Regions from separate parts of the Homo sapiens genome. Here region 1 is linked to region 2. The links are contacts of gene promoters, found by promoter capture Hi-C in human tissues and cell types (Jung and others, 2019). All regions are on one chromosome and are shown on one strand. Each heading gives the region's core, a stretch centred on a gene start or on the middle of the fragment in contact. The rest is flanking DNA. Distances are from core to core; before and after follow the strand shown.

Region 1 (5,658 bases), core at 2,308-4,807, 520 kb after region 2:
TACAACCTGATAATTTTTTTAGCTTCCCCATTTAATTATTCTTAAAGTATACCAGTTCTCAGACTTACCAGCACCTCTATTAAATCTTTTCTTCCTGTCTTTTCGTCTTTACTTTCCTCCTCTTTTAGCTTAGATTCCATTGTTACTCTCTCTATTCCATGTCATAAATTGTTTGCCCCATTTTTGGTCAATTTATCTGGTAAAGCTGTTTAGTAAAACTTTGCCTTTGCATTACTGTAGTCTACTGAAGAAAGCCACACAACGGAGCAGATTGGTGGGACTGTAAAATGATGATGAATGATGTAGGTCAGTCCTTAACGCTGCTTACCAATTCTACTTTTTGTTCAGCGTATTTTCTTGTTCTCTGTATTATCTCTCAATTTTTTTTTTTTTTTACTCATCTCAAATTTGGAATTTCCTTGCTCTGCTGATTTCCTTTTTATTTCATGGAGAAAATAGCTATAATGTGGAAGCTTCTTTAGCTTCTTTACCACTAAAGTTACAAATATTTTGTTACCTGTACCTGCTTTTTCCTTTTCATCTGTTGTGGTGGAAGAAATATTCCTTCTATCACTGTTTATGCTCTCAATCCCCTTCCTTCCTTTTCATCTTTTGTGGTGGAAGAAATATTCCTTCTATCACTGTTTATGCTCTCAATCCCCTCCCTTCCTTTTCAAGAATAACTTTTTTTTTGAGAACTTTGGCTGCAGAGAGTATGGAGAGTTAAATGCAAGCTGGAAGAGTTGTCTAGATTCACTGTCTTTATTTCCTCATCTCCTACCCACTGGAGTTGGGCTTTTGCTCCTACCACTCCTCCACTCCTGAAATTGTTCCTACAAAGGGTACCAGTTGACTTCAAGTCAGTTAAATTGGATGACATTCTTTAATGATGGGCCTCCAGGCAGCATTTGTTCAGCAGTCCCTGACTATCTTTTCTTGGCTTCTTTAATAGCATTTGCAGTCTTGATTTCCTTCCACCTCTCTGGTTACTCTTCTTCTGTTTCCTACAGTTTAATCAGTTACTACAAATATTACTGTAACATAAACAAATAAAGGTTTATTATCTTACAGAGAAGAATGCAAAATTTGCATAAATTTTGAGAACCAAACAGGCTTTAAGGAAACCAGGTTGTGGCAGGAAATTTTGAGCAGGTTACACACTACTCTGTGAGAGATACTGAAAAAAGTTGTGAATCATTCATACATGTTTCATAAATGATTCCTTTCAACAACCTTATAAGGTAGATGGTTGTATTCTTGTTTATCCACAAAGGATTTGAGGTGGGGAAAGATGGGGTATGTTCAGGAAACTGTGCCTTGTTCTTTCCAATTGGAAGGTTAAGTTACAATAAGGTACTACTGAAGATAAAATCTGTTGTTTCCATGATATGGCGTGTCTTGAATGCCAAGGGGAGACGTTTTTTACTTAATTTTTTAGATAGTGAGGACTGAAGATTTTTTTTTTTTTTTTTTAACCTTGAGTGGCTGGAGTGCAGTGGCACGATCTCAGCTCTGCAACCTCTGCCTCTTGGGTTTGAATGATTTTTCTGCCTCAGCCTCCCAAGTAGTTGGGATTACAGCTGCCTGCCATCATGCCTGGCTAATTTTTGTATTTTTAGTAGAAACACGGTTTTGCCTTGTTGGCCAGGCTGGTCTCGAACTCCTGACCTCAGATGATCCACTTGCCTCGGCCTCCCAAAGTGCTGGGTGAGCCACTGCACCTGGCCAGGTTGAAGATTTTTAAGCTGTGTACAACGTTTTGGGAAAGGAAACCTGTCTTGGTGAAAGGTTGATAATCCCATAACGTTAGTTTTAGTGACCAAATGGCACTTCCACTTGAAGCCTTTTTGTAGGCTTTCCACTATAATGAATTGAGCCTTCTTTGACACTCCCATAGCACTTTGTCATACCTTTTAGCACACTTCTCATGTGTCATAATTACTTGTTTGTATTTGGCTTCCCCATTGGATTTTAGCTCTTCTAGAATAGGATTATTAGTTTATGGTTAATGTTGATTTTGGTAATCTTTCCTCATCCCTATCTCAGTGGTTGGCAAAATAAATGGTTCTTGAATTAGTAAATGAATAAAGAGTTTGAATTTTGAATCTTTTGTCTGAATAGCTTCTCAGAATGCATCTTTTTTATATTTTTACTGATTACCGGGTTGAATAAATTAGAAGCCACTCCTACTTCCTCTCTGCTGATACATATGTTTTAGCTAGTTAAACCTATTTTGATAGAGGAGTTCTATGACTTTAAAGGCCTATGACTTTGCAGACACTCATACAGTGTACAGCATACCCTATGCAAATCAGCTGTCTGTTCAGGTCTTGTGTTTGTTTTCCCCATAGACATAATCCAGCCGTTAGTTATTCAAAGCAGCAGATGGGAGAAGGAATCCGTGGAAATGTGGATTTATTAGCTCTCACAATGAAAGACCACACTGGTTATGCTAAGGATTAGAAGATTTCTGCTGAATGAAAGGGACATGGATCCTGTTTTTTGTGCTATTTTCAGCAGTGTGGCAATTTCTTATGACTATAATCAGTTGTAAAAAGACCAGAAAATGATCTTGTAAATAGACTTTCCTTCAAGCCCTAGACTGTTGGTTGCAGCTGTCATAATTATAGGAGGGACTGCTTTTCTTCCTTTTTGGGTGCAGACTGAATCTGGCCTTTAGCTATTGCTATATTTACACCTTAGGTAGTATAACTGGCTGATTGTGTGCTTTATACATACCTTTATCTGTCAAATTAGGGAATTTGGATTCGTGTCTCCTGAATTTTGTAGGAGAGTAATTATTGTAGCATGTCTTATAGTTTGGAAAAAATGATTGAATTTAATGTGTTAAACTCACTTCCTAAAAATATAATGCTGCCTTCACTAACAATTTTGTGTGTGTGACTTGTTAGAAAGATCAGCAACTTTCCTTTGTGTTTACTAAGATTCTGACAATTACCATAAAGTTGGAAAGTTTAAACGTTGCTTATGGAGTGTGTAAGGAACAGAATCATATCATGAGAACAATCTTTCACTCTTAAAATCTAAAAGATTATGTATTTTGAGCCATGAATTAAGAAACAGAAGCATCTTTAAACTTGGCTGAAGTTCTACTTTAAAAATGGCAGCCAGTAACCAAAGAAACAATTCTTGAGATCATTAAAGCTTGGATAAAATGAGACTTTTTCATGCTGTGCCCTTTTAGAAGTCTGGGGGAATGGGGAGCGTTTCCTGTGACAGCACTGTAAGTGATAAACAGCTGAATGAATTTGTCCATGCTCAGAACTCACAACACGTGGACTAGCCCCCTCCTGCACATAAAAGAGCAGGGAAACCGACCTTAGCAATGATCTAGCTCCTGAAGAAAGAGGCTTTCGTTACTGTCCAAGAAGTGAAGACCAGTGAGTCTAGCGATAAAGAAACAAAAGAGCCCCTGACAGTATCGAAAGAATCTGACATTTGCTTTGTCTGTACAAAGGATGAAAGGAATTTTGCCGACTTAGTCAAAACAATAACTGGTTTTATATCATTTTGAGTCTAAAATACAGGCATCAGAATCGTATGTTTTTCTTTGTATTTCTGAAGAATTGTCATCTTTTTAAAAACGTATGTGGAGTGGTTTTGTTTCTGGAAAGGAAAACGTGACATGGATTTTATAAGCTTAGTAGCTGTAGGTGGAGACTCTTGTTTTGTTTGCTAAACCTTTTTAATAAGCAGCAAAGTCAGGATATCAAAGATTGGAATTTTTCCCCCGGAACCTTTTGTTCTTTTCTTAGTACTTCAAATAATTTCAACCAAAGGGGTATGCATGGAAAATGAAAACAAATATGAAGTCTTTCCGCTATTTGGCAGTGCTTCAGATGAGATGTATCTATACTTCTGTGAAGAAAGACGTGATTCTGATATGAGGCAGTGATTGTATACTTACGCTGGACAGAGGGATAACTGGTTTAGTGGAACAGTGGGTTAGTGGTGTGCTGAAAGGATTGTTTGCCTCTTTATCCAGCAGTAAGTAGGCACTAGTAGTTGACTGTCTGGGGAGTGGCTTTTTTTTGTCTGATATCTATTATGGATGATTCCAGTATTCTGAGAAGGAGAGGGTTACAGGTGAGTAAAAGAAAACCTTTTTCACTGATCTCCTTCCTTTTAATGTCTCTTGTAAATGTACTGAACAGATTGTTATAATGTATTTAATTCATTTGAGGTAGGAGGCAGAGTGGAGTGCAGCTAAGTTCCTCTTTATTCTTTGATGTATAGTTATAATTAGAGAACTTATCTAAAATCTTGCTATTTTGATAGAAAAATGCTGCTTGGGCTTATTTACACTGTATTTAGTGAGTAGAGCAACTAAATCAGACCTGTATGGGATACAAGCCTAATTTAGAACATTAGACATTACTGCTGACAGATTGTTTACGGTGAACATATTCTGTTCCTGACCACCATGCCTGATCTGCCCACCATTAAGTCACATGTATGGTAGTATATGCTTGATTCTATGCATAGTTTTAAGAACTTTTCTAAATTATCACTTGGCATATACACATTCCATCCACTTATCTATTGTCTGTCTGTGTTGTCTGTCCATCCATCCGTCTGTCTGTCTACCTACCTACCTACCTACCATCTTTTCCTTCTTAAATCATAGGTAGTTTGTTAGATGAAGAGGTATGTAAGATATAACAGTGAATGAAAATAGACTGATAGGCAACCTTCAACTGAGTTTTAATGAATATCCTTAGCACTAAAAGAATACATGCCAAATTTGATGATTATTTTTTTCATGCTTTGTAGATTATCTCATCTTAGTCTTGTTAGCAAAGAGCAAGCCAGCTTCTAGTCTATCACTAAATGTTTTTGAGAATTGACATAATGAAGATTCTAGTGTAAATCACTGAGCTAATCAATCAACCTGTGATGGTTTAGTCATGAAATGTAGCTATTTCTGTTGTTTTCATTTTGTTTATTTGACATTATTTATAAAGCACTTTTTTTGTACAAAATACCTAAGGATTTTAAAATTATCATGAATTAACATTATTTTAGTTTCTTTAAAGTTCTCAGGTAGAAAATGTATAGGATTAGTAAACTTAAAATATAAATTTAAACAAATTGTATTGTTTCTAGTTATTATATGTACTTCTTATTGATGGTGCTGTAAACATTCAGAGCCCGTAGGGAGAACCCACTGAATCTTTAGCAGTTGACCAGTATGACCTGGGCTTTAAAAGTCAATAACATAAACTCCAGCGCCTTATACTAATTTCTCCTGTTAGCACAGTTGATTCGATGAGATTTGTCCCTTGATTTCTTGGGGTTATTTTGAGTAGTATTTATTTAGTACTGTACTCAGATGACCTCTCATAAGTAGTGATGTATGTTCAAGCAGCTGCTAATTAAAAATGGCTGGCTCTGTAAGCCCATTTAGTTGCACTGCTTATTTATATCTTTATTTCTCTTTAGTTGCTAGGATTCAGAAAGGGAATCCTATTTGTTGAATGGGAAATATTTTCTGTTTTGTGTTAAATCATTCATTTTCTCCCTGATGCCTGAGTCAGTCTCTAGTATTTGCTACCTTGTTTACTGATGCCCTTCCTCTCGAGTCTTTGTTTCTATCTAGCAGGAGTTCTAAACTGCCAGATTACATAGCACTGGAAG
Region 2 (5,034 bases), core at 994-3,493:
GCATAAAAAGCAAAAATTAGACCAAGAGGGGAAAAAAAAGAGTGCCAAGGTGGGGTTTAATGTTGCAATTTTAAAGACTGTGGTCAAGGTAGACCCAAAGCATTCTAAGTGAGTGCAAAGGCCCCAAGGAGGGTGCCTGGTATGTCTGTGGTACAGTAAGTAGGTCAATGTGGTTAGAATGGAATGAGATGGGACTGAGTGGTAGAAGAGGTCAGAGAAGTAAACCAGATGAGGTGGGGAGAGGAGGGTCACAAAGTACCTTATAGGCCATTGGAGGGATTTGGCTGCCACACCCTTGCTCTTAGAAGGCAGTCCTCTTACTACAGCCTTGCAGGTCCAGTGATCCGGGCACCATCCGCCTCATCCCCTCACTATGCTCTAGCCAAGGTTGACTGAATTTAGTTGCTTAAACACCTCAAGTGTGTCTGCCCACCTTGGGGCCTCACACAATCCATTTCCTCTGTTTGGACTCTTTTATGCTTTTACCTAACACCTTATCATTTTTCAAGTCTTGACTGAAATGTCCAAATCAGGTCCCCTCATCTTATCCTATCACATATTTCTGCCTTGTAGCTCTTACCTAATGTAATTTTACATTACTTTGATTCTTTCCATCAGTGTGTACTTCCTGAATTTGACTGTAAAAAACGACTTGAGTGCAAGGACTGATTCTCTTGTTGATTGGTGTGTGTCCAAAGTCAGTGCCAGGTAAACTGTACACAATAGATACCTGTTAAATGAATTAATGGGATGGGGGATAGTCAAAAGAGTTTCCCTTTTTTAGGATAGGAGAAATCCAAAGAGTTTTTTTATTTTTGTTTTTTTTTTGTTTGTTTGTTTTGTTTTTAGAGACAGTGTGTCCCTCACTTTGCTGCTCTGCCACTCAGGCTGGAGTGCAATAAGAACATGGCTCACTGCAGCCTCGACCTCCTGGGCTCAAGCCATCCTCTCACCTCAGCCTCCTGTAGCTGGGACTACAGGTGCGCACCACCATGCCCAACTAATTTTTAATTTTCTTTTTGTAGAGACAAGGTTTCACTATGTTGCCCAGGCTAGTCTTGAACTCCTAGGGTCAAGCGATCCTCCCACCTTGGCCTCCTAAGATGATTACAGGCCATAAGCCACTGCGCCCGGCCCAAGCAGTTCTGAATAATGATGAAATGGGCTCAGTTGAGAGAAGCTGAAGATTAACTATAAACAATGAGTAACAAAGGAGCACTGGAAGGCAGAGGTGGATGGGAATCGTAGTGTTTACGGAGGGACTAGTCTCCAATAGGAATTTTTTTTTTTTTTTTTTTTTTGAGACGGAGTTTCGCTCTTGTTGCCTAGGCTGAAGTGCAAAATGGCGTGATCTCGGCTCACCGCAACCTCTGCCTCCCAGGTTCAAGCGATTCTCCTGCCTCAGCCTCCCAAGTAGTGGGATTACAGGCGCCCGCACCATACCCAGCTAATTTTTTTTGTACTTTTAGTAGAGACGGGGTTTCACCATGTTGGCCAGGCTGGTTTTGAACTCCGGACCTCAGGTAATCCGCCCGCCTCGGCCTCCCAAAGTGCTGGGATTACAGGCGTGAGCCACCGCGCCCGGCCTAGGAACCTCTTTCAAATTCAATCACCCTCTAGGTCGACTATACCGCCTAGCTGCTTCACAATTTGTCCCTTCCTCGCCATCCATACTGCCAGCCTTAATTCAAGTTCACATTATCACTTGATTGGATTATTACAAAAGCTTCCCTACCAATCGGTCGCTCTTACACCCTGGGCAGCCTCCTCCGATGGCCCACTCCCCGCCTCTTTCACTTTCTGGAGATCACTGAGCTCTCCATCCTCTCTGGGAATTTACCGATGCCCAGAACGCCCTTCTTTCCCCCACACGACCCTCTCCTAGTCTAACTCCTGGGCGTGCTTTAAGCTCAGCTCAGGCAGCGTCACCTTCTCTGGAAAGCCCAAACCCAGCCACCCCACTACCCGCTACCCGCGGCCCACGCTGATGAAGACAGCAGAACACGGAGGCCCCGCGTTCCCGCCGCGAGAGCAGGAGAGAAAGATTACCTCCCGCGAGCTCTAGCGCGCCCGGCTTTCCGGCGCACTCCAGGGGGCGTGGCTCGGGTCCACCCGGGCTGCGAGCCGGCAGCACAGGCCAATAGGCAATTAGCGCGCGCCAGGCTGCCTTCCCCGCGCCGGACCCGGGACGTCTGAACGGAAGTTCGACCCATCGGCGACCCGACGGCGAGACCCCGCCCCATCCCCGACTGCCTGAACCGCGCCAGGAGACGGACCGCAAGTCCAGCGTACCCACAGACGACTCAGGCGGGAGACGAGCGGTGTCATGGCCGCCGACAGTGACGATGGCGCAGTTTCAGCTCCCGCAGCTTCCGACGGTGAGCGGCTTCCCAGAGGTAGCCTTCAAAGCCTCTGCGCTCTGGGAGAGGGGAAGGCCTCGGGCTCATAGTTCTAGAGGCTCCTCAAGCTTCAGAGGACTGCTCCTTCCGCCTGAACTAGCCACGAGGAGACTACAAGTTCCGTTGTACACCGCGGCTCCGGCTGCAAAAGCCTGGAGCGTTGGGAGCATGGGGCTGATGGAGGCATGGCGGGAGATGTAGTCTGGAGCTCATAACGGTTAGTAGTAATAGTTGTGATTCAGTTCAGTGGAGTGGATTGAGCGTTGTGATCCAAAGGAAGGTAGGACGTATTGGGAGCTCTGGTGTGGGGCACTGCCAGGCTCTGGGGCTTACTGGGAGCTGTTGCTTGTGGCGCTGGGGCACCATGAGAACAGTAGTATGGATCCCTGTGGGATATTAAGGGAGCTGAGATCCTCAAGCCCTACAAAATGTTTCCTGCAGGACATGGGAAAAAAGAATCAAAGGTCGTCTAGTCCAACTTTCTCCTCTACAGATTGTGAAAGCGAGGTGGGAAGTAATTTACCCAGGCTCATACAAGCCAGTAGAAGACTCAGGCTTCCTCTCCCCAAATTCAGGGCATTCTCCACTCCAAGGCCTGTGTGTAGAACACGTGGGTTACAAAGGCTTGTGGGAAAAGCTACCAATGGAAACTACCCCCCTTACCACCATCACCGTGGCCTAGCTTGGTGTCTGTTCCCCTGGGCTCTTTCCTTAAGCATGAACATCCATCACCCTCCTAACCCCCAGGTGGTGTCAGCAAAAGCACAACATCTGGGGAGGAGCTAGTAGTCCAGGTTCCCGTAGTGGATGTGCAAAGCAACAACTTCAAGGAGATGTGGCCATCCCTCCTGCTAGCCATAAAGACAGCTAATTTCGTGGCTGTGGACACGGTGAGAGTTGGGAAACAAGGAGGGCAGGTGGTTGTGAAGGGGCTGGTGCTAGAGGCCTGTCACAACTCTCCCTTTACCTACCCACAGGAGCTGAGTGGGCTTGGGGACAGGAAGAGTTTGCTGAACCAGTAAGTATAAGCCCTTTTCTCTTTAGTGCCAGCCCTCAACTGTGGAGTGGGGGGGTCACAGACCTGGGTGGTTTGGGTCCTTCATAAGGCTAACTCCTAGCCACAGCAACCCCCATACCCAACCCCAAGGTGCATTGAGGAACGTTACAAGGCCGTGTGTCATGCTGCCAGGACCCGTTCTATCCTTTCCCTGGGCCTCGCCTGCTTCAAGCGGCAGCCAGACAAGGTATGAGCTGATCTCACCCCAATCCTAGGTGTGGCTGTGGGGTGGAGGGTAGAGAGATTCTAGGGAACATCAGATAGGAAGCATTTCTCTCCCAAATCTTTTTTTTTGACTTGATAGTTTTTTTTTTTTTATTTGAATAGGTTTATGGGGAACAGGTGGTGTTTGGTTAAATGAGTAAGTTCTTTAGTGGCAATTTCTGAGATTTTGGTGCACCTATCACCCAGTGTACACTGTGCCCAATGCGTAGTCTTTTATCCCTCACCTGCCTCCATCCTTTCCCCCCTGAGTCCCCAGAGTCCATTGTATCATTCTTAAGCTTTTGCATCCTCCTAGCTTGGCTCTCTGAAATCTTGATATAGCAGACTTCTCTTTCTCCCAGGGTGAACATTCCTATCTGGCTCAAGTGTTCAATCTCACTCTGCTGTGCATGGAGGAGTATGTCATAGAACCAAAGTCTGTGCAGTTCCTGATACAGCATGGCTTCAACTTCAACCAGCAGTATGCCCAAGGCATCCCCTACCATAAGGGCAATGACAAGGTAGGCCTCTAGCCTCCCTAGCCTTGAGTCTGCCCTTTCTGTGACTTTATTTCTTCCTACCCTAGGCTGGATGTCTGGGGAGAATCTGCTTCTTAGGGAGTATGGGGAATCACTAGTGACAGGGCTTGGGAAACAAGACTGGTATGAGGAGGGTGGGCAGCATTGGGTAAGGTAGAGAGAGAGCGTTCCAAGTGGGGAAGTCTGGGATAAGTGCCCAGCAGAAGAGGCTCCCTGGGGGACTCTGTCCTCCTCATTGACCCCTTTACTTTCATCTAGGGTGATGAGAGCCAGAGCCAGTCAGTACGGACCCTATTCCTGGAGCTAATCCGAGCCCGCCGGCCCCTGGTGCTACACAATGGCCTTATAGACTTGGTGTTCCTGTACCAGAACTTCTATGCACACCTCCCTGAGAGTCTGGGAACCTTCACCGCTGACCTGTGTGAGATGTTCCCAGCAGGCATTTATGACACCAAATATGCTGCTGAGTTTCATGCCCGTTTCGTGGCCTCCTACTTAGAATATGCCTTCCGGAAATGGTGAGGAAATGGTTGAGGGAAAGGGGTGGGGCCTGATACGAGTTTATTTCATTCACTTAAGATATTTATTGAGCTCCTACCATGTGCCCAGGCAGTGTTTTAGGTGCTGAGGATTCAGCAGTGAACAAAACAGACCACAAAACCCTGCTCTTATGGAGCTTATATGCTAGTGGACCATTACCCTCTTGCGCTGTTGCAGTGAACGGGAAAATGGGAAGCAGCGGGCAGCTGGCAGCCCACACCTTACCCTGGAGTTCTGCAACTATCCTTCCAGCATGAGGGACCATATTGATTACCGCTGCTGCCTGCCCCCAGCA

The links. The method cuts DNA at HindIII sites, captures the fragments that hold promoters and counts their contacts. A contact is called where the count stands out against the background at its distance.
Region 1: a contact is called between a fragment that was not itself captured here and the fragment with the promoter of TOE1 in region 2, in 1 of the 25 tissues and cell types used here (hippocampus).

The regions. Positions count from the first base shown.
Region 1 is chr1:45,861,033-45,866,690 of GRCh38, forward strand. All of the region lies in intron 3 of MAST2 (microtubule associated serine/threonine kinase 2), which reads left to right. Among named protein-coding and RNA genes, the nearest start is that of MAST2, 60 kb to the left of the region's middle. The HindIII fragment of the contact is 3,476 bases long and covers 1,820-5,295 here.
Region 2 is chr1:45,337,927-45,342,960 of GRCh38, forward strand. It overlaps TOE1 (target of EGR1, exonuclease), which reads left to right and starts at 2,244. Exons shown (of 8, transcript NM_025077.4): 1 at 2,244-2,378; 2 at 3,147-3,289; 3 at 3,377-3,417; 4 at 3,547-3,643; 5 at 4,023-4,181; 6 at 4,458-4,717; 7 at 4,917-5,034. The coding sequence starts at 2,327. MUTYH (mutY DNA glycosylase) reads right to left here and starts at 2,044. Exons shown (of 16, transcript NM_001048174.2): 1 at 1,973-2,044. RefSeq lists enhancers at 1,566-2,233, 2,234-2,902, 2,255-2,604, 2,903-3,569. The HindIII fragment of the contact is 1,117 bases long and covers 2,097-3,213 here.